7 separate regions of the Homo sapiens genome follow, and all the other regions are linked to region 6. Evidence: promoter capture Hi-C in 16 types of primary human blood cells and fetal thymus (Javierre and others, 2016). All regions are on one chromosome and are shown on one strand. The core of a region is centred on a gene start or on the middle of the fragment in contact, and the rest is flanking DNA. Distances in the headings are between cores, read along the strand shown.

Evidence for each region. The method cuts DNA at HindIII sites, captures the fragments that hold promoters and counts their contacts. A CHiCAGO score of 5 or more calls a contact.
Region 1: a fragment that was not itself captured here is called in contact with the fragment with the promoter of THRSP in region 6 in 14 of 17 cell types (neutrophils, activated CD4 T cells, naive CD4 T cells and 11 more); the score reaches 9.1 in neutrophils.
Region 2: a contact is called between a fragment that was not itself captured here and the fragment with the promoter of THRSP in region 6, in 3 of 17 cell types (neutrophils, monocytes and naive CD4 T cells). The highest score is 5.7, in neutrophils.
Region 3: a contact is called between the fragment with the promoter of NARS2 here and the fragment with the promoter of THRSP in region 6, in 17 of 17 cell types (naive CD8 T cells, neutrophils, activated CD4 T cells and 14 more). The highest score is 30.3, in naive CD8 T cells.
Region 4: a fragment that was not itself captured here is called in contact with the fragment with the promoter of THRSP in region 6 in 1 of 17 cell types (endothelial precursors); the score reaches 5.6 in endothelial precursors.
Region 5: the fragment with the promoter of CLNS1A here is called in contact with the fragment with the promoter of THRSP in region 6 in 10 of 17 cell types (non-activated CD4 T cells, total CD8 T cells, activated CD4 T cells and 7 more); the score reaches 10.2 in non-activated CD4 T cells.
Region 7: a contact is called between a fragment that was not itself captured here and the fragment with the promoter of THRSP in region 6, in 2 of 17 cell types (activated CD4 T cells and neutrophils). The highest score is 5.7, in activated CD4 T cells.

What each region holds. Positions count from the first base shown.
Region 1 is chr11:78,525,859-78,528,746 of GRCh38, forward strand. All of the region lies in intron 6 of NARS2 (asparaginyl-tRNA synthetase 2, mitochondrial), which reads right to left. Among named protein-coding and RNA genes, the nearest start is that of NARS2-AS1, 5.9 kb to the right of the region's middle. The HindIII fragment of the contact is 2,418 bases long and covers 430-2,847 here.
Region 2 is chr11:78,542,291-78,544,990 of GRCh38, forward strand. The region is part of intron 5 of NARS2 (asparaginyl-tRNA synthetase 2, mitochondrial); the gene reads right to left. All of the region lies in intron 1 of NARS2-AS1 (NARS2 antisense RNA 1), which reads left to right. Among named protein-coding and RNA genes, the nearest start is that of NARS2-AS1, 10 kb to the left of the region's middle. The HindIII fragment of the contact is 4,377 bases long and covers 1-2,700 here.
Region 3 is chr11:78,573,540-78,576,276 of GRCh38, forward strand. NARS2 (asparaginyl-tRNA synthetase 2, mitochondrial) reads right to left here and starts at 1,325. Exons shown (of 14, transcript NM_024678.6): 1 at 809-1,325. The coding sequence starts at 949. RefSeq lists enhancers at 711-820, 1,481-1,620. The HindIII fragment of the contact is 10,208 bases long and covers 1-2,737 here.
Region 4 is chr11:77,656,230-77,659,081 of GRCh38, forward strand. No RefSeq gene overlaps it. Among named protein-coding and RNA genes, the nearest start is that of CLNS1A, 20 kb to the left of the region's middle. The HindIII fragment of the contact is 4,015 bases long and covers 1-2,852 here.
Region 5 is chr11:77,636,402-77,639,128 of GRCh38, forward strand. It overlaps CLNS1A (chloride nucleotide-sensitive channel 1A), which reads right to left and starts at 1,393. Exons shown (of 7, transcript NM_001293.3): 1 at 1,189-1,393. The coding sequence starts at 1,313. RefSeq lists enhancers at 1,121-1,640, 1,295-1,534. The HindIII fragment of the contact is 10,516 bases long and covers 1-2,727 here.
Region 6 is chr11:78,062,442-78,065,141 of GRCh38, forward strand. THRSP (thyroid hormone responsive) reads left to right here and starts at 1,420. Exons shown (of 2, transcript NM_003251.4): 1 at 1,420-1,900. The coding sequence starts at 1,441. The coding sequence ends at 1,881. The region is part of intron 1 of NDUFC2-KCTD14 (NDUFC2-KCTD14 readthrough); the gene reads right to left. The HindIII fragment of the contact is 4,485 bases long and covers 1,165-2,700 here.
Region 7 is chr11:78,473,827-78,476,712 of GRCh38, forward strand. All of the region lies in intron 9 of NARS2 (asparaginyl-tRNA synthetase 2, mitochondrial), which reads right to left. The region is part of intron 1 of LOC105369403 (a long non-coding RNA gene); the gene reads left to right. Among named protein-coding and RNA genes, the nearest start is that of LINC02728, 45 kb to the left of the region's middle. The HindIII fragment of the contact is 8,270 bases long and covers 1-2,886 here.

The DNA of each region.
Region 1 (2,888 bases), core at 389-2,888, 460 kb after region 6:
ACAAGCCTTCGCCTCTGTGGTATTCTTTCAAAATACCCAAATAACCCTAGTCTAATCATGAGAAAAATGTCAGACACACCCAGATTAGAGTACATTCCACAGGTCGTAAAAAAGAAAAATTGAGAAACTGTAATAGAATGGAAGAGACTGGGGAAACATGACAACTAAGTTTTATGTGGTACCCTGAATTGGATCCTGGAAAAAGAATAAGGGTATTGATGGAAAAGCTGGTGAAATCCAAATAAAGTCTAGAGCTTCATTAATAGTAATGTGATAACATTTAATTCTTGGTTTTGACAAATGTATCATGGTCATGGAAGATGTTTACAATGGGGGAAACTGGATAGAGAATACACAAAACTATGCATTATCTTTTCAACTTTCTATATATTAAAAATTATTCCAACATAGAATATTTACTTTAAAAAAAGCTTTAAAATGGAACCATAAACCCACTAAAGCAACAGAGATATCCTTTTGGAAAATGTTAACTGTCTAAATTTAACTACCATTTTCTCCATTTTAAAAGTCTGTTAATACTCTGGTTTCTCTTCAGATTGCATAAATCTTTTGCCTTTTACAAAGTCTGTTAAATTGAATTCAAGAAAAAACAAAGCTGAGGGAAAAAGGACTAACAATTTCTTATTGGAGAATAAATCATACTTTAATCAAAAACATTATGTTCTGCATATTAATAGTCCTAGAACTGTGCATATTAAACTAGGAACATTTGAATGACAGTAGTACAAATACTTCATGGCACACTAAAAAATACAAAACCTAGTATTCTACCAATTTAATCTTCCGTCAAGTTTCACAGAACACTGTGTTCTGTGGTTCACTGCGCTTTACTGGGAAAGAGGCATATTTAATACACTAGTGGTATTATAATAGAGAAACAAACATTTGCTAAGTTTATATATTTCACATATGACACTTCTGAGGGATGAGACACCTTGCTTCTAACTTTATAAATAATAGAAATGAATACTAAAAGGCTGTTAAGAAAGGTTATCCAAACCTTGAATATAAGGCCAAAAGCTGTAGCCTTAAAAAGGTGATGTCCTTTCAAGGTATTACACAATGAGGGGACAAAGGCCCATTCGACGATTACTTAATTACTTAGGGAAAGGGAAATGTACTTGTTCCATTAGTCTATTTAATATTGAATTAAATAACCCGTATTAAGTGAAGTTACACGCTAATTTACAGATCTTTCCCAGCAGAGTTGCAAATAACTCTACCAGGTAGAAGAGATAATCCCAAAGTTTAGGGTGTGTTGGTCCTGTAGGACATTAACCAGTTTATAACTGACCTAGCACTCTTATTCCAACTATTAAAATGTCTATAAATACAGAGGTCTTCAGATGCTCTTTGAAACAGTTTTCTATTTTACTTGTTTCCTCTGTAATATAATCAACTGAATGAAAACTTTGATACAAATTCATTTTGTATTTGAATGAGTCATGTTTTTAATTTTTTTAAATTATAATTCCGTAGGCATAAGAACATTCCATGACAGGCTTGACACGGCCTTTCCTACATCCAGATCTGCAAATCCTATAATCTCACCATGTTATTATGACACTTTTTCTGCATAGTATTCTGCTAATATTGCCAGTCATTTGGTTATTGGAACTATCAAATAACATATTTTTGTTTCAAAGATAAATCAGAAAAGAACATGTTACTTTCAAGACCATCTTTATTCCACCACTGACTTTCCATTCTTCTAGCAAAGTACAAAAGTAAATATGCAAACTATTCTATTACATTTTCCTTGAGTTTTCTCATCTGTGCATTTTTAAAACAATGGAAAACACCAAAAGATTCCCTTCCTTTCAAGTGAGCTATTTCCAGAAAAGATTTTTTTAAGTCCTAATCTCTATAATGAGAAAATATTTAAAGAAAAAGATACATAAAGAAAACTCAGTACTTGATGAGTCTGCATTAACAAATTACCCCCAGAGGCCAGGCTCAGTGGCTCCTGCTTGTAATCCCAGTGCTTTGGGAGGCTGAGGCGGAAGAACCACTTGAGTCAAGAGTTTGAGACCAGCCTAGGACACATGGTGAGAACCCACCTCTACAAAAAATTTTAAAAATTAGCTAAGTGTGCTGGCACATGCCTTGAGTTCCAGTTACTTGGGAGGCCTAAGGCAGGAAGATCACTTGAGCCTAGAGTTTGAGATCAGCCTTGGTACATAGCAAGACCCCATCTCTACAAACAATTAGCCAGGTTTGGTGGTATATACCTGTAGTCCCAGCTACTCAGAAGGCTGAGGCAGGAGAATCACTTGAGCCCAGGAGTTTGTGAGCTATGACTGTGCAACTACACTCCAGCCTGGGCAATAAGCGAGATCCCACCTCTAAAAAAAATAAAAATAAATGGGAATTACCCACAGAATTACAGAATATAAGATTTAGACAGGATTTTAAAGGTCTTCTTTCTCAATCCCGTTTTAAAGAAAAGGTAGGCCCCAAGGAATACAGTGACTTTCCAGAGGTCTGACAGTTGCTAAAATTCATTTGATCTGACTTAAAAGATGTAATTTGCTGTACACCTCTCAAAATGTAGGTATGAGTTAATTTTATTTAAACCAATTACTGAAAAAAAAATTATTCCGTCTGTTTCAAATACTACTCTCTTTAAAATGAAATAGACTAATACCCGGTTCAGGTATAAACTATAAATTGCCTTTACTTCCATAAATATGATTAATTTAAATAAATTCTGATTACATGTTTGGGATTCAAGCAAGAAAAATTAGTAAAAAGAAAAAAATGACAACTTTGTATTTTCAGTGTTACATTTTTCACTAAAAACAAAAGTCTGTACTACAAGTAAGAAGCTTAAATATTTTGGAAAATTCAAGTGAACTAATGATAAA
Region 2 (2,700 bases), core at 140-2,639, 480 kb after region 6:
GAGGGTAAGGTTGAGGCAAAACAGAAAGTGAATATACAATGCTGCCTTATTTTTCTTTTACAGGAGATAAACACAAATGTAAAATTGCAAAACAGCAAACTTATTCCTAAATGTAAAGGGGTCGGTGAAAAATGAACCAAACTTTTTTTCACTATTGCTTGAAAAATATTAATTTTGGCTTATTCATTGTCAGATTGGGGCTTTAAGGATGAATATGATAAGATATGGTCCTAGTCCGTTAACTAGGACTTCTGTGAGAAGGGATACCTATGCTCCAGAGTTAAGTCTCCAAACCACGTATCCACACAAAGGACTTGACTACCACTAAACACAGCAGGTACTCAATAAATACTTATAAATCCCAGCACTTCGGTGGGGTGGAGGCAGGAGGATTGCTTGAGACCAGGAGTTCAAGACCAGCCTGAGCAACATAGTGAGACCCTGACTCTACTTTAAAAATTAGCTGGGTGTGGTGGTGCGCACCTGTAGTTTTAGTAACTCTAGAGGCTGGAGTGGGTGGATCACTTGAGCTCAGGAGGTCAAGGCTGCAGACAGCCATGATCGCTGGCTCATCACTGCACTCCCAACAGGGCGACAGAGCGAGACCTTGGGTCAAAACAAACCCCCCCACAAAATATACTTTCTTGCAGTTGCTGCAAGGAGGAAGTTAAGTTATTGATAACTGGAACAGAAGGGCTTGGTTGCCCTTTACCTCTGGCTGTGGTAATCAAGAGTAAGTTAGCCAAGTACGGTGGTGGGTGCCTGTAATCCCAGCCACTAGGGAGGCTGAGGCACAAGAACTGCTTGAACCCAGGAGGCAGAGGTTGCAGTGGGCTGAGATGGTGCCACTGCACTCTAGCCTGGGCAACAGAGCAAAACTACGTGTCAAAAAAAAAGAATAAGCCATTATAAAGCATACTCATATAAAAGTCACGATTTTGATGCTATCCAAAGATTATCCAAAAGGGATTCACATCATTTTTTGAGATCAAAGTGTCTCTTGAAGTCAACAATGCCATGGAATGCTTCCTTCAAAGATGGCATGCATAAAATAAATGTCTAATTTCCAACAAAAACCAATTTCCCCTAATAATTAGATGGTATTGGCCCTAAAGAGTATAAACTCAAAAAACTTTCCAGTGTTTATGAAGCTGACATTTTCTTTTCATTTATGATTACTTGAATTCTAATGTCCAGACTAGCAACATGAAAGTTCATGTTTTTTAAAAAGAAGAAACGCTACTTTTCTACTTTTAATTAGCAATGGAAATAACCATTTGTAGGAAAAAAAATAATTCTCTCTATATTAAAAGTTCAAAAGTCTAGCAGAGGTGAACTATTCAACATAATCACTTCTGGGAAAATACACAGCAGGAATAGATACAACAAAAACAAAAAACATGTACCCTGGTACCAAGATCCAAGATGCATAAGCTACTTTCTAAATATATCCAGAATCCGGCCAGGCAGAGAGGCTCATGGCTGTAATCCTAGCACTTTGGGAGGCCAAGGCGGGCAGACCACGAGGTCAAGAGATTGAGACCATCCTGGCCGACATGGTGAAAACCCGTCTCTACTAAAACTACAAAAATTAGCTGGGCGTGGTGGCGCGCACCTGTAGTCCCAGCTACTCGGGAGGCTGAGGCAGGAGAATCGCTTGAACCCGGGAGGTGGAGCCAAGATTGTGCCACTGCACTCTAGCCTGGCAACAGAGTAAGACTCTGTCTCAAAAAAAAAAAAAAAAAAAAAACTCTCTCTCACTCTCCAGAATCCAACCACATTTGAGGATGTACAATTTCAACTCCTGTGTAAATCACTATCTGTCCACCTAAAATACAGCATTAGACTTTTAACTGGTTTCTCTTCTTCTGTACCTCTCCCTGATTTAATCTCCATATAGCAGCCAGAATGATCTCATTAAAATATAAGTGATTTATTACTCCTTTGCTTATAACTCTCCAAAGACTCACAGCCAATATTCTTATAATGGCCTAAAAAGTCCTTTTTAGAGGGAATGTTTCTGGTTGTCATAACTGGGGAGAGCTACTGAAATTTAGTGGGTACTACCCCAAGTTTCAAATATGCAATGGAACATTCATGTTAGTGAATTAGGTAAATTGTATTATTTTAATATGCTCTGAATTTTCCAGAATGCATCTTCCATGTAAATCAAGGGAAAGCTAATACTTTCATGCGGAACTCTTATCAAGAATGAGTTACCGGCTGAGCGCAGTAGCTCATGCCTGTAATCCCAGCACTTGGGAGACTGAGGCAGGCAGATCACTTGAGGTCAGGAGATCGAGACCATCCTGGCTAACACGGTGAAACCCCGTCTCTACTAAAAATACAAAAAATTAGCCAGGCGCGGTGGTGGGTGCCTGTAGTCCCAGCTACTCGGGAGGCTGAGGCAGGAGAACGGCGTGAACCTGGGAGACGGAGTTTGCAGTAAGCCAAGATCGTGCCACTGCACTCCAGCCTGGGCGATAGAGCGAGACTCCGTCTCACAAAAAAAAAAAAAAAAAAAAAAAGGATACAGAAAATTAGCTGCGCGTGGTGGTGGGCACCTGTAATCCCAGCTACTCAGGAGGCTGAGGCAGAAGAATTGCTTGAACACGGGAGGCAGAGGTTGCAGTGAGGTGAGATCGCGCCACTGCACTCCAGTATTCTCATCACAAATAGCAAACTGTTCATGATATGTGA
Region 3 (2,737 bases), core at 75-2,574, 510 kb after region 6:
AATAAATAACCACATCAGTGTACTTCAGCAACCTAATAAGAAACAGTCAAACACCTTGTTTATTCTGCACCTCTTCTATGTGGAGCTGCTGCAAATAATATAATCAGCAAGAGAAACAATAGCAGCTAACATTTGTAGACTATGAGCCACTGTTCTAAATATCTTACTTCCATTACCTCATTTAATTTTCAGGACTCAGGGACAATTATTATCTCTTTCCATAAGAGGAAAATAAGGTGTAGAACGCATAAACGCTATGCAGAGATTTAAACCTAAGCAGCTTAACTCCAGAGCTCTTTCAAACTGCTACATTCCAGTCTTTCTCCGAATTCATTAAAAATAAATTACATGCAGACCCCCACAATAGGCACTGAGGTCGCTAAAAGTTTAAAAGGCATGGTTTGAACAAGTATTTGCTGTCAGCCATGTGTGAATACAAAGGCAGGTAAGACACGGTTTCTGCTCTCAAGGAGGGAGGTCAAGACAACCACTTTATAAACCTGGATATTCATTATAAGGGATAAAGATAGAGAAAGGGGGCTTGTTCATTTACACTTTTGGTATGATTAACAAGTTTACAGGTAATACCCTGGAATCATGAAAGCAAAGTTCCAGCGCTTTACAGTTATCGGAACAGTTTTGTGAAAAGTAATGGAAATCAGAAAAGTGCAAACCCGCGACGCCTACACTTTCTAACTTTTCCCTGCTGGCGGTTGTGTCTGACCCGACTGTAAAAGAAAAGCTAGATGTGGATGTGCCATATAAAAGTCCCTACAAGAAAAAACCCACTCCCTTCCCATTCACCAACCTGGATCTTAATGCGCTCCCCACTCGCGTTCTGAGCCCCGAGAGCGTCCCGCACGCTCAGTTTGGCTGAAGGTTTGTGCTTGGGGAAGGGGGCGGAGGAACAGAAGCGCACGGACCGCAGCAGGCAGCGGACCCCCAGCATCCCGCGTCCGCCCAGGCCCTCCGCGGGAGCAGCCCAGACCCCACGGTTCGAACCCCGCCTGCAGCGGCCCTCCTTTCTCAGCTGCTCCCCTTCCGCGGCCGCAGCTCTGCTCTAAGGCACTCCAGAGCCCCTCGGCTGCGCGCTTTCTCCTTCAGGACTCCCAGCTCTGTCCCCACAGAACCTCTCCGCTTCCCACTTCCCAACGGGGCGGAATGGACAGGACACTAGGCAAACGCCAGAAAGAAACCACGTGCAGTTGGCAGCTGGGGCGCCCCACTACCCGCGACAATTGTAAACCTACGAACAGAACCCGGGCCGCAACACGCGCAACCACTCCTACCACACCACGCCAACGCCGCTTACGTCATCACGCTACGGGGAAGAAGGGAGAGCATGCGTACTTGTGACCCAGGCTTAGGGAGGCGTGCGGGAGGGGGCGGGGTCAGGAGCCGAGACGGGGCGGAGCTAATGCCCTAAGGTTGTAGAGATTATCGCTGAAAGAACGTGGGAGCACATCTGAGGGTCTTCATTTCTAAAGTTTCCAGGTGAGGCTGAGAAACTGAGAGGCAAGGAGTGACTGATGGAGAGGGAAACCGTCTCCATCAGTCAACAATAGGGATCCAAGTAAGAGGAGGCTCTTAGCTGTTAACAGGATTCGCTTGAAGAGATCAGTCGTTCCTTTCCTGAGTACTCCGCAGAGAAAAATCAGACATAGCCCCAATGCGCAAGTCACAGTTGTGTGGTATCAGACAGCTAAACAGACAGTTGCATAAAAGGGCGATCAGTTTGCCTGACAGAGCCTAAGCGTGGGACGCCAGAGATGGCTTCCTGGAGAAAGTAGTCCTCTGACAGGTAAATAAAAGGAACTGGAGGGACCTTGCATATGGCAGGCAAGACGGTGGGAAGATGTTGCAGAGACTGGAGGAAACTCGAGTGTTTCCTGCCAGAATCCTCCAAGTCTCCCTCTTCCCTCTGCCCTCCAACACAGCTATCTGCATTTGTTTGACCTGGAAACAATGACCCTTTTATATATTAGGCTACGTTTTATTAAAAAAAAAATTCTGTAACTCAATGACGGTCATTAAAAGGTTTTTAATCTAATTTAAAAAGTAAAACGTTTGGCCAAGTGCGGTGGCTCACGCCTGTAATCCCAACTCTTAGGGAGGCAGAAGCAGGAGGATTGCTTCAGCCCAGGAGTTCAAGACCAGCGCTCGCCCTCGCTGTCTCTCTCCCGCTCCCTCTCACTCTCACTCTCTCTCTCTCACTTTTACCTTACTTAAAGTTGCTACTATTATTATACCCATTTTACAAATGAGAGAACTTACGCACAGAAAGGCTAGATGACCTACTTAAGGATACACATTCCCTAAGTGTGAGATTTAAACCCAGAAGTGCTGGCTCTATGCACTTAAGCAGTATGCTGTATTACATAGTGTCCCAAGGTGATCTGTTCCATCAAGGAGCTCATGCTTTAGAGATGGAGACAAGCAAGAAAAGAGACTACTGAAATATAAACCAGTAAGTGCACACATAGATGTATGAGTTGTCTGCATTTGTTTGGACTGAAAAGTCACCCTTATATATTAGGCTACCTCTTAAATTTATCCAAAAAATTATTTTTGATATTTTATCCAAATATTATATTGGATAAAATATAATACAATTATAATATATACATGTATCACAATTTTATATTTTATATAATATAAATGTGTTCCCTGGTTCTTTTAATAAATTAAAATTATAAATATAATAAAATTATAATTATAAATTATAATATATAATTAA
Region 4 (2,852 bases), core at 132-2,631, 410 kb before region 6:
GGCGTTTTTAGGGTGTTGACAACCTTGTGAATATGCTTGATGAGGCAGGAGAATAGGGTCTGGAGGCAGGGAACCTAAGGCCATTTCACATCACTTCTTAGAACCAAGTTGAAAAGAAAACTCATAACTTTCCACAGCCTAAGTAACAAAAGGACCAGAGGCTACTACTCCCTTTGCAAACCCCCCACCTTTTCTGCTGGGCAGTTGGGAAACTGGCTGCCTGAAACCAATCAGACTGTTTGCCGGCCGGTCTTCGTTTGCAACTTTCTAACTTTACCTTAGCCTCTGATTGGTTGCAAAAAGAGGAGAGTGAGCGTTGTACCCTCCACTTCAGTCTTTGATTGGTTGCTTTCCACAACCAATCAGACCGATTGAGAGCTACCACTTCATTTACATGAGGTGAGCAGGAAGTGGCCAATGGAAAACCTCTAGGGGGTACTTGGACCTGAGAAGATTCTGTATCCGGGCCCTTGAGTCGCTGCTTCTCCAGCTTCCACACTGTGGAGTGTACTTTCATTTTCAATAAATCCCTGCTTTCCTTCTTTTGTTACTTCATTCTTTCTTTGCTTTGCTGGGTGTTTTGTCCAATTCTTTGTTCAAAGCGCCAAGAACCTGGACAACTTGCAGTCAAGACCCTCTACCAGTAACACTAAAGACCTCTGAATTGTACACTTTATAATGGTGAACTTTATGGTATGTGAATTATCTCAATAAAAAACAAGAAACTTTTATAAATAAAACTTACAAGTTCTTTTGGACATCGTTATGTAAGCACATCCAGATTATTAAAAGTGGCTGTCCGCCGGGTGCGGTGGCTCACGCCTGTAATCCCAGCACTTTGGGAGGCCGAGGTAGGAGGATCGCAAGGTCAGGAGATCGAGACCATCCTGGCTAACACAATGAAACTCTGTCTCTACTAAAAATACAAAAAATTAGCTGGGCGTGGTGGTGCACGCCTGTAGTCCCAGATACTCGGGAGACTGAGGCAGGAGAATCACTTGAACCCGGGAGGTGGAGGTTGCAGTGAGCCGAGATCGAGTCACTGCACTCCAGCCTGGGCGACACAGTGAGACTCCATCTCAAAAAAAAAAAAAGATGGCTATGTCAAAAAGGGGACAGTCATCTTAAAGACGGCTTCTTAGCATTCCATCTCCCTTCTCTGATATACTTTTCCTGCTTGTGGATCCTTGTCTTTCTTTTCCTTTTTTTTTTTTTTTTGAGATGGAGTCTCGCTCTGTTGCTCAGGCTGTAGTGACCACTCATCATCATCACTTATGACCTCAAGTAATCCTCCCATCTCAGCCTCCCAAAGTGCTGGGATTACAGGCATGAGCCACTGCACCCAAGAGATCCTTGCCTTTCATCCTGGGCTCTCTGGCCCTCTCCTGGTTCTGCTCAGAGCATTGGCCAGTAAAATTCCAGCCCTACTTCTGCATTATTCTGAATCTGAAGCCAACTTTCTGATTTTCTATTAGGTTGGTGCAAAACTAATTGTTGGGCCAGACGCGGTGGCTCACGCCTGTAATCCCAGCATTTTGGAAGGCCCAGGCAGGTGGATCACCTGAGGTCAGGAGTTCCAGACCAGCCTGGCCAACATGGCGAAACCCAGTCTCTACTAAAAATACAAAGAAATCAGCTGGGCATGTTGGCACACATGCCTGTAATCCCAGCTATTCGGCAGGCTGCGGCAGGAGAACCCCTTGAACTGGGAGGCGGAGGTTGCAGTGAGCCGAGATCACACCACTGCACTCCAGCCTGGGCGACAGAGCGAGATTCTGTCTCAAAAAAAAAAAAAAAAAAAAAAAAAAAAAAAAATTGTGGTTTTTGCCTTTAAAAAAAATAGATATATGTATATTATATACAGCAGAAACTGCAATTACTTTTGCACCAACCTAATAGCATTGAGCCAGCTACCTCTCTTTGTTGTTGCTACAGAAAATCTTTTATGGTTGAAGCTAGGACAGTACAGGTTCAAATAAGGTTCTATCATCATTAATGAAGTACTTCCTCTAACTTTTTGGTTCTAAATGGTAGAGTAAGAGCTATTTGGTTATGTGAGTTCACAGTGCAATTACTGGTGTCCCACTAGCAAGCAATAATGTCAAAGAGAAAACAAAATGCACATTACATTCAACAGACAAACATGAAGCAAGTACAGGGAAAAGGGAGGAATCACATTCCTGTTTTAAGTTTCAGCTTTCTGTAACAGCTGTTCCTGATAATAAAGTATGTTGCTGAGATGGTGGTTTGTTTCCTGGAGTTTCTCTTAGGAATTTCTGACATTTCAGTAATAATTTCCAAATACACTTTAGGGTTTTCCATAGTCTATTTATTTTAAAGACTGGAAGTTAAATAAGAAGTAACTGGGAAGGGTATTGAACCAGAGACAGGATCAAACTTTCATTTTCCACAATAGGGAGAACTTTATTTAGAGAGGAGTGTGTGTCAAGTAATGGAGATCAGAGATAGAAAAGTAAGATGTGAAAGACCCAGAGGCGGTAATAAAAAGACGACCGATCAAGGACACAGGCAGACAAGGTACTGCAAAAAGAAGATACCTCCTCAGAGACAGGACTAGGGAGAAAGATAGGTGCTCAAATGTGGGTAAAGTGGCTCTGAAATGGGCAAGGAGGAGTGATAAGGAAGCCATAGGTGGCCGATATCAATACTAGTAGGTTCCCAGCTGTCTTCAGTTGGGATTTGACTGTATATGCTACATTGCAATGTCAAGTTACATCCTCTTAGAGTGTCCTTTCTCTTTGATATTCATTTAGACTTTTAGTACCCTAAAGAGCTCATGCAAACTCATTAAGAATCAAAATGACACAAGCATTAATCTCACCCAGAAGGGT
Region 5 (2,727 bases), core at 143-2,642, 430 kb before region 6:
TCCTGACCAAACTCATTATCTGCCTCTCACCTCAATCTTGCTTTTCCTCCCATCCATATGTCCTATCTCAGTTTCTGGCCTGAAGCCTAAACCTTGTTCAATGTCTAAATTTCCCTTTAAAGCAGAGGTTCTTTACAGTTTTTGTGCTCTGGATTCTGTAGTAGGCAGAATTTTGGCCCCACGACCTTCACTTTCTGGTGTCATGCGGGTGAATATGTTATATTACACAGCAAAAGGGACTTCACAAACGTAATTAAGGTTACCAGTCGACAGTAACATAGGGAGATTATCCTGGATTTTACAGGTGGTTCCAAAGTAATCACATGAGCTCTTAAAAGTAGAGAATTTTCTCTGGCTGTAGACAAGTGATGGAGCAAAAGGGGAAGCAACACATATCTGAAGGGCAGGAAAGATTCGATGTGTCATTACAGGCTTCAAAATAAAGAAAACTGCATGTCAAGGAAACAGGGACCTCTGTTCTACAACCACAATATTTACGGTAGATCTATCTGACTGTCAAAATACCAAAGTGCTCCACGTGGCCAAATAAAAGGGCAATTCCTTCCAGGACCCCAAAACGGGAGTCTGGTCCCTCTGCATATGACCCCTGTCTGTGTCGAGTTAAGGGTGTTCCTCTCCTTACTATACCTACAGAAGAAAATCTTTATTGTGTAACCAAACTTTAAAAGTCCTCCACAGTCGGCTCTGAAACTACGTATCCCAGAGAGGGGAACATCTCCTGCATCTGTTCATCCGGAAAGACAGGCACACTTCAGACCCTTAAAACCAGACCGTGCGTTAAGGGCAACGCACGCGCCAGACCTCCAGTAAATAGGCGAGTTAAAAAAAAAAAAAAAAGAAAATAAAAGAAAGAAAGAAAGAAAAGAAGAAGAAAGAAAGAGAGAAAGAGACAGAGAAAGAGAAAGAGGAAAAAAAGAAAAAAAAAAAAAAAAAGCACAATCCATAAGGGGAAATTCCGGCCGGAGAAAACAGAGAATGGAAGACTCCGGAGGAGTACTAGAAAAATCGAGCCTTCCACCCGCTACAGGTATCCCTGAGGCGTCGGGCACGAGACCCCGCTCCCAGCAGGCCTCCAGGCCGCCCCTTGCCCGGCTCCTTCGCACCGCCTGCTCCAGCAAGGAGGAGGGCGGCGCGCAGGAGGCCAGCGCTGGGGACCAGGAACCCTACCTCTCAGCGATGTAAAGGGTACCAGTGCCGAGGCCCTTCCCGTTCAGCACAGCCTCAGTGTCTGGCTGCTGCCGCAGGAGCCCCTCCGCTGGCCCAGGCGGCGGGAAACTTTTGAGGAAGCTCATAGCAGCAGAGTGCGGCAACACAGGCCCTGAGGGAGTTGGAGCACAGCAATGCGTGCACCACACCGCCCGCCCTGGAAGAGGCAGTCACCCCGGAAGAACAACTTAGTCTGCCCCGGAATCTGAACGCCGTCGACCATAGAGATGAGACATTCTAGGAAAAGCGGCGGAGGTCGGCTAAGAACGTGTGGAGTTTGACCGCGCAACACCCTTCCCCTTCTTCCTCGCCATTTCTGAGGCTTTGGGCTTCAATAACTGAGGGTTCTGTGGGAAGTCCCTCAGGATTGTCACAGTGAAACCACCACTGCAAAATTATAACTGAGACACTGAAAGCGATCTGACCTACCCAAATCCATGTTGTTTCTAACCTCCAAACTGTCCTTGTTCATTGCTGGATATAGGCTGAACTAACTTTGGGAGGAACTTAGTTTACAGTTTGAAGTTTAAAACAAAGATGATGACAGCCTTTTCCCAAAACAAACTTCCTTCTTGCCTGGGGACTGGACTGCCTTTGTAGGACTAACAAATCAGCCACAAGATTAGAAATTATGGTTTAGATTAGAAATTACAGCTGCAAGCTACAAGATTCTGACCCTCCCTAAACTGCACCTAAGATCGGTGCTTGAGATATGTTGCAGACCCTGCACTTGATGGATCAGCTGGCACCACCAGATGGATAAACTGGCTATGTGATCTTGTGCCCCCTCCCCACCAACCCAGGAACTGACTCAGCGCAAGAGGACAGCTTCAACTCCCTGTGACTTCATCTCCCACCCAACCAATCAGCACTCTTGACTCACTGGCCTTCCCCAACCTGCCAAATTATCCTTAAAAACTTGGATCCCTGGCTGGGCGCGGTGGCTCACGCCTGTAATCCCAGCACTTTGGGAGGCCGAGGCGGGCGGATCACGAGGTCAGGAGATCAAGACCATTCTGGCTAACATGGTGAAACCCCGTCTCTACTAAAAATACAAAAAAATTAGCCGGGTGTGGTGGCAGGCGCCTGTGGTCCCAGCTACTGGGGAGGCTGAGGCAGGAGAATGGCGTGAACCCGGGAGGCAGAGCTTGCAGTGAGCCGAGATAGCGCCACTGCACTCCAGCCTGGGCGACAGAGCGAGACCCCGTCTCAAAAAAAAAAAAAAAACAACAAAAAACAAAAAACAAAAAAACTTTGATCCCTGAATGCTCTGGGAAACTGATTTGAGTAAAAATAAAACTCTAGGCCGGGTGCAGTGGCTCATGCTTGTAATCCCAGCACTTTGGGAGGCCGAGGCGGGCAGATCACGAGGACAGGAGATCGAGACCAGCCTGGCTAACACGGTGAAACCCCGTCTCGACTAAAAATACAAAAACAAAATTAGCCGGGCGTGGTGGCAGGTGCCTGTAGTCCCAGCTACTCGGGAGGTTGAAGCGGGAG
Region 6 (2,700 bases), core at 170-2,669:
CGAGTAGCCGGGACTGCAGGCGCCCACCACCACGCCCGGCTTATTTTTTGTATTTTTAGTAGAGACAGGGTTTCACCACGTTAGCCAAGATGGTCTCGATCTCCTGACCTCGTGATCCACCCGCCTGGGCTTCCCAAAGTGCTGGGATTACAGGCGTGAGCCACTGCGCCCGGCCATTTTCTTAAATATCTAATAAAAAATATATAGCAAATGCAGTTTGTAAACTATGACAATATGACCACGCAAAAGATTATTATCTTCCAAGACTGCTGGTCCAAGGAAAGGTCAGTAATAAAGTGGAAGCATTGTAGCTTATGGAATGACTGGTTAGATTTGGGAGAAGCCTTAGCAATAATCTAGAATCTGCATAGATAATACATCTGAGGATTGGGCTTTGTGGTTTACAAAGCATTTTTTTTCCTCTTTTGATCCCAGCCGCTTGTCTGGACTGATACAAAGCATTTTTATTAGTTTGTCTTATTCAATCCTCACACCACCTCAAATTTACAGAGGATATGGATCTGGTTAACTTGTATGACTATGTAACCTCATGTCAGTCCACAGCACTGCCTGGAGGTGGGTAGAGGTGGTCCTGGGCTGGAATCCCAGCCCCAGTGGGACCTTGAGCAAGTTACTTTAGCTGTCTGCACCTAAATTTCCTCACTGGCAAAACAGGAATACTGGTGGTTCACACCTGCAATTCCAGCACTTTGGGAGGCTGAGGTGGGAGGATTGCTTGAGTCCAGAAGTTCAAAACCAGACTGGGCAACATAGCAAGACCATCTCTACAAAAATTAAATAAATAAAACATTTACAAGGGTTGTGGTGAAGATTAAATGAGATCACTCACGAAAAAGCTCAGCAGACCCTGATGTGCAGTAGGTGCTCAATAAATGTTAGCCAGCAAAAAACAAACAAAAAAAAACTCAGCTAGGAAATTGCAGTACTGGGCTTCTGACTCCAACCTCAGTGTTCCTTGCCCCACATCAAGCTGTTTCACTTCAAATCCTCTCCATTTCACAATGGAGTCACCCCAGGTTGAAGGAGTGAACTGTGCTTTGGAGGGCTGCCCTAAGCAGGCAGCAAAGAGACAGCTTGGTCTCCAGTGACCTGAAAGAATTATTTATTGCCCTGAAGTCCAGTATACCAGTTGCCAAAGGGAAAAGCTTCCTTCCAACTGGCTCAGCAAGCTGACAGAGGAAGAGTCGGGTTCTTGCTGGGGCAGTCATGCAGAGCTGGGATGACAAGTAGAAGGCTGGCAGATCTGTCTCTGGGCAGATGGATCACCTGATACAGATGCTGGGGCCTGAGCCCTGGGATTGGCCCAAAACAGGGCTGTGTTGACCCAACAGCTGGGCATTGGCATCCTGTCAATCTGCCGAGAGCCTAGAAATAGTGCGGGGGCAGTCTGCTGGTCTCATTGTGTCAGAGGAAGCAACCATGCAGGTGCTAACCAAGCGTTACCCCAAGAACTGCCTGCTGACCGTCATGGACCGGTATGCAGCCGAGGTGCACAACATGGAGCAGGTGGTGATGATCCCCAGCCTTCTGCGGGACGTGCAGCTGAGTGGGCCTGGGGGCCAGGCCCAGGCTGAGGCCCCTGATCTCTACACCTACTTCACCATGCTCAAGGCCATCTGTGTGGATGTGGACCATGGGCTGCTGCCGCGGGAGGAGTGGCAGGCCAAGGTGGCAGGCAGCGAAGAGAATGGAACCGCAGAGACAGAGGAAGTCGAGGACGAGAGTGCCTCAGGAGAGCTGGACCTGGAAGCCCAGTTCCACCTGCACTTCTCCAGCCTCCATCACATCCTCATGCACCTCACCGAGAAAGCCCAGGAGGTGACAAGGAAATACCAGGAAATGACGGGACAAGTTTGGTAGACCTTGGACACTAGGGAAGGTAATGGTGGCCATGCTGGTGGGTGTGAGTCTACAAAGGGACATTCCAGGAGAGGAGAGGGGGCAGTGGTGCAACCCACTGGGAGAGGAACAGCCTGACTTTCAGACAGAGCCACTCTTGGGTCAGGGTATTGGGACCACAACCTAGGAGGGCCTAAGACTAGGCCTGTGTTACTATCCTTCTGACCTCAAATTGGCAATTGCAATGAAGTGATATGGAAACAGAGGGAAAAGTGGCCTGTGAGGGCATATCTCATATGCACATATATGTGTTTGTGCATGTGTGCATTTATTAGTATGTGAATGCTTGTAAATGTGTGAATTGAATGAGTGTGTTCTCATCAGTGACTTTGTTAAGAATTTAATTGAAGAGGGGCCAGGCGCGGTGGCTCACACCAAAGCACTTTGGGAGGCCGAGGCGGGCGGATCATGAGGCCAGGAGATTGAGACCATCCTGGCTAACATGGTGAAACCCAATCTCTACTAAAAATACAAAAAATTAGCTGGGCGTGGTGGTGGGTGCCTGTAGTCCCAGCTACTCGGGAGGCTGAGGCAGGAGAATGGCATGAACCTGGGAGGCAGAGGTTGCAGTGAGCTGAGATTGTGCCACTGCACTCCAGCCTAGGTGACAGAGGGAGACTCCATCTCAAAAAAAAAAAAAAAACTTACCTAAGGCATGCACATTGATTTAAGTGAACATTGTGAATTCCATTTGTGTGACAGTGTTTCCCAACATTTTTTCAAGTCACAGAACATGGAAAATTATTATATGGCACATGGGGATACATAGGTGAGGCTGCT
Region 7 (2,886 bases), core at 356-2,855, 410 kb after region 6:
ACCAGTTCTAGCTTTGTGTGTATATCTGTGCATGCATTTCAGGGGATATCTTGATTCTAATTCATTCTGCTACGTCTATTCTCATGTCATCTCATTGCTGTTAAAATCTCTGGTTTCAAAAACTGGAAAATCGCCCTCCAGCTTCCCTACCCTACACCCTGAGAATCCTCAGCATCACACCAACTGTCCATATCACTCTGGTGTTTGGTTCCTTCTTCATTTCTAGCACCTGGAACTTCTCCTACTTTCTAGTGAATTCAACAACGTATTTAAAAGAATCTTATAATATTTTAAGTATTATTTTTAGATGTTTTGCAGAAAGAGTGTTTTCAAATTACCTAGTCTGACATATTGCTTTTAACAGTATTGTCATTAAATCCTTTCAACAATATAAGGCAGAGTATTTTTTTATAGATGAGGAAACTGAAGTTCAGAAAAGTTAAAGATTCACTATTAATCAAGTTCATAGTCGTAATTACATTATTCATATAAATATTTAACTGTTCATCTTTTTCTCTAGATTTTCAACTCCATAAAAAAATAAATCAATGTTTGTTTTCATTATTCTCAAGAACTAGCAAAGTGCCTAACTCATATTAGGCAGTCAATAAATATTTGTTAAAAAATAATAATTTACTCATTAATGGCTAGTAAATGGTAGGGCCAGGATTAGAATCCAGGTTTTCTGAATCATGGTTCACTACCCTCAGTGACTGAAATAAATAGTGATATTAGCCAATAAGAAACCTCAGGAGAGGATCCAGCCTAAAGAATACCTTTACAGCCACAGTTACTCAAGTCACTTGTTTGTCCACTCAATTACTCAGTATTTACTGAGTTCCTGTTAAAGGCACTGGGCTAAGTCCTGGGGGTATAAGAGTAAGCAATTTAAACATAGCCTCTGACATCACAGAGGTAGTAGATACCAATCAAATAATCACACATATACATTTATTTAAAAATGTCTGAATTTTTAATTGACAAATATTTTATGTATTTACAGGATACAATGTGTTTTTGGTATTATACACTGTGGGATGAATATATCAAGGTAATTAACATATCTATCGTCTCACATGCTTCACTTTTTTTTTTGCAGTGAGAAGATTTAAAATCTACTCCTTTAGCAATTTTGAGATATACATTACAATTAATTATGGTCACTTTGTTATGCAATAAATCCTGAACACTTATTCCTCTGGTCTAACTGAAACTTTGTACCCCTTGGACAATTTCTTTCCATTCCCTTCAAGAACCCCTCACCGGCCACTGGTAACTACCATTCTACTCACTACTTCTGTAGTGTTAACTTTATTACATTTCACATCAAAGTGAATCATGCAGTATTTGTCTTTCTGTGCCTAGCTTCTTTCACTTAGCATTAAGTCTTCCAGGTTGATCCATGCTGTCACAAATAAGATTTCCTTTGAATAGTATTCCACTGTGTATATATATACACATTTACTTTATCCAGTCACCTACTGATGGACACTTAGGTTGATTCCATATCTTGGCTACTATGAATAGTGCTGCAAAGAACATGTAAGTGCAGATATCTCTTTGACATACTGACTTCAGTTCTGCATATGTACCCAGAGGTAGGATGGCTGAATCATATGGTAAATATACTTTTGGTTTTTTGAGAAACCTCCCATACTATCCTCCATAATAGCTCTACTAATTTACATTGCCACTAACAGTTATAAAAGGGTTCCCAAGCGCCACATCTTTGCCAACACCTGTTATCATTTGACTTTTTTTTTTTTTTTTTTTTTTTTTTTTTTGAGACAAGGTCTTGCTCTGTCTCCCAGGCTGGAGTGCAGCAGCGTCTGTGATCATAGCTCACTGAAAACTCAACCTCCTGGGCTTAGGCAATCCTCCCACCTTAGTCTCCTGAGTAGCTGGCACTACAGGCACATGTCACCACACCTGACTAATTTATTTATTTATTTTTTGTAGAGACAGGGTCTCACTAAGTTGGCCAGGGTGGTCCTGAACTCCTGGGTTCAAGTGATCCTCCCACCTCAGCCTCCCAAAGTGCTGAGACTACAGGCATGAGCCAACGTGTCTCATTCTACTTTTTGATAACAGCCATTCTAACAGGTGTGAGTGGTTATCTCAGTGCGGTTTTAATTTGCATTTTATTGATTAGTGATGTTGGACACTTTTTGATAAACCTATTGGCCATCTGTATCTTACACAAATGTAAAACATTTGTGATGTCTGCCTGCCTGAGCAAAGCATGGGGGTGGATGCTGAGGCTAGGTGGGGTGGCTGCCCTGTAGGGGCTCAAACCAGATAGACTTTCCTACTGAGCTTCTGCAGCAACCAGCTAGGCTTTGTAAATGGGCTATGCCACTGGCTGGTATCTCTGATCAGGTGCTACTGCTGGCAGGAACACAGCTATGACTAAGATCCGTGTACTGGTTGCTGTGAGCACTGCCCCACTCCTTTGTTCCTACTTGACCCCTGGTAGTCTAGGCCTTACCCCCAGGGTTCCCTGTGAGACAGGAATGGGCCTCCTAGGAAGCATCACAGAATGCTGGGGAAACTGGATAGCTGTCTCTTTTTCCACTGCATTAACTGTGTGCCAAGGGGAATCTTCTGTGTGTGGTATTGTGCCTACTTAGGGAAGGGAGGATTCAGTCAAACTGAGACCATTGCTCCTACCCTTCTAATGCACTTTTTGCTCTGTGGTCCATCTGCGTGTCTCAATTTCATTCCCAAATTTTGGGATTTTCAAAAAGGTGTTCTTGTATGTGACTAGTTGCCAAATGGACTTTCTGTGGTGAAGGCTGGGACCCTCTATTCATCATCTTGCTGATGTCCCTCTCCCCACAAATTTAAACTGCAACTATGATTTGTAGTATGCAGAATGGATTATGA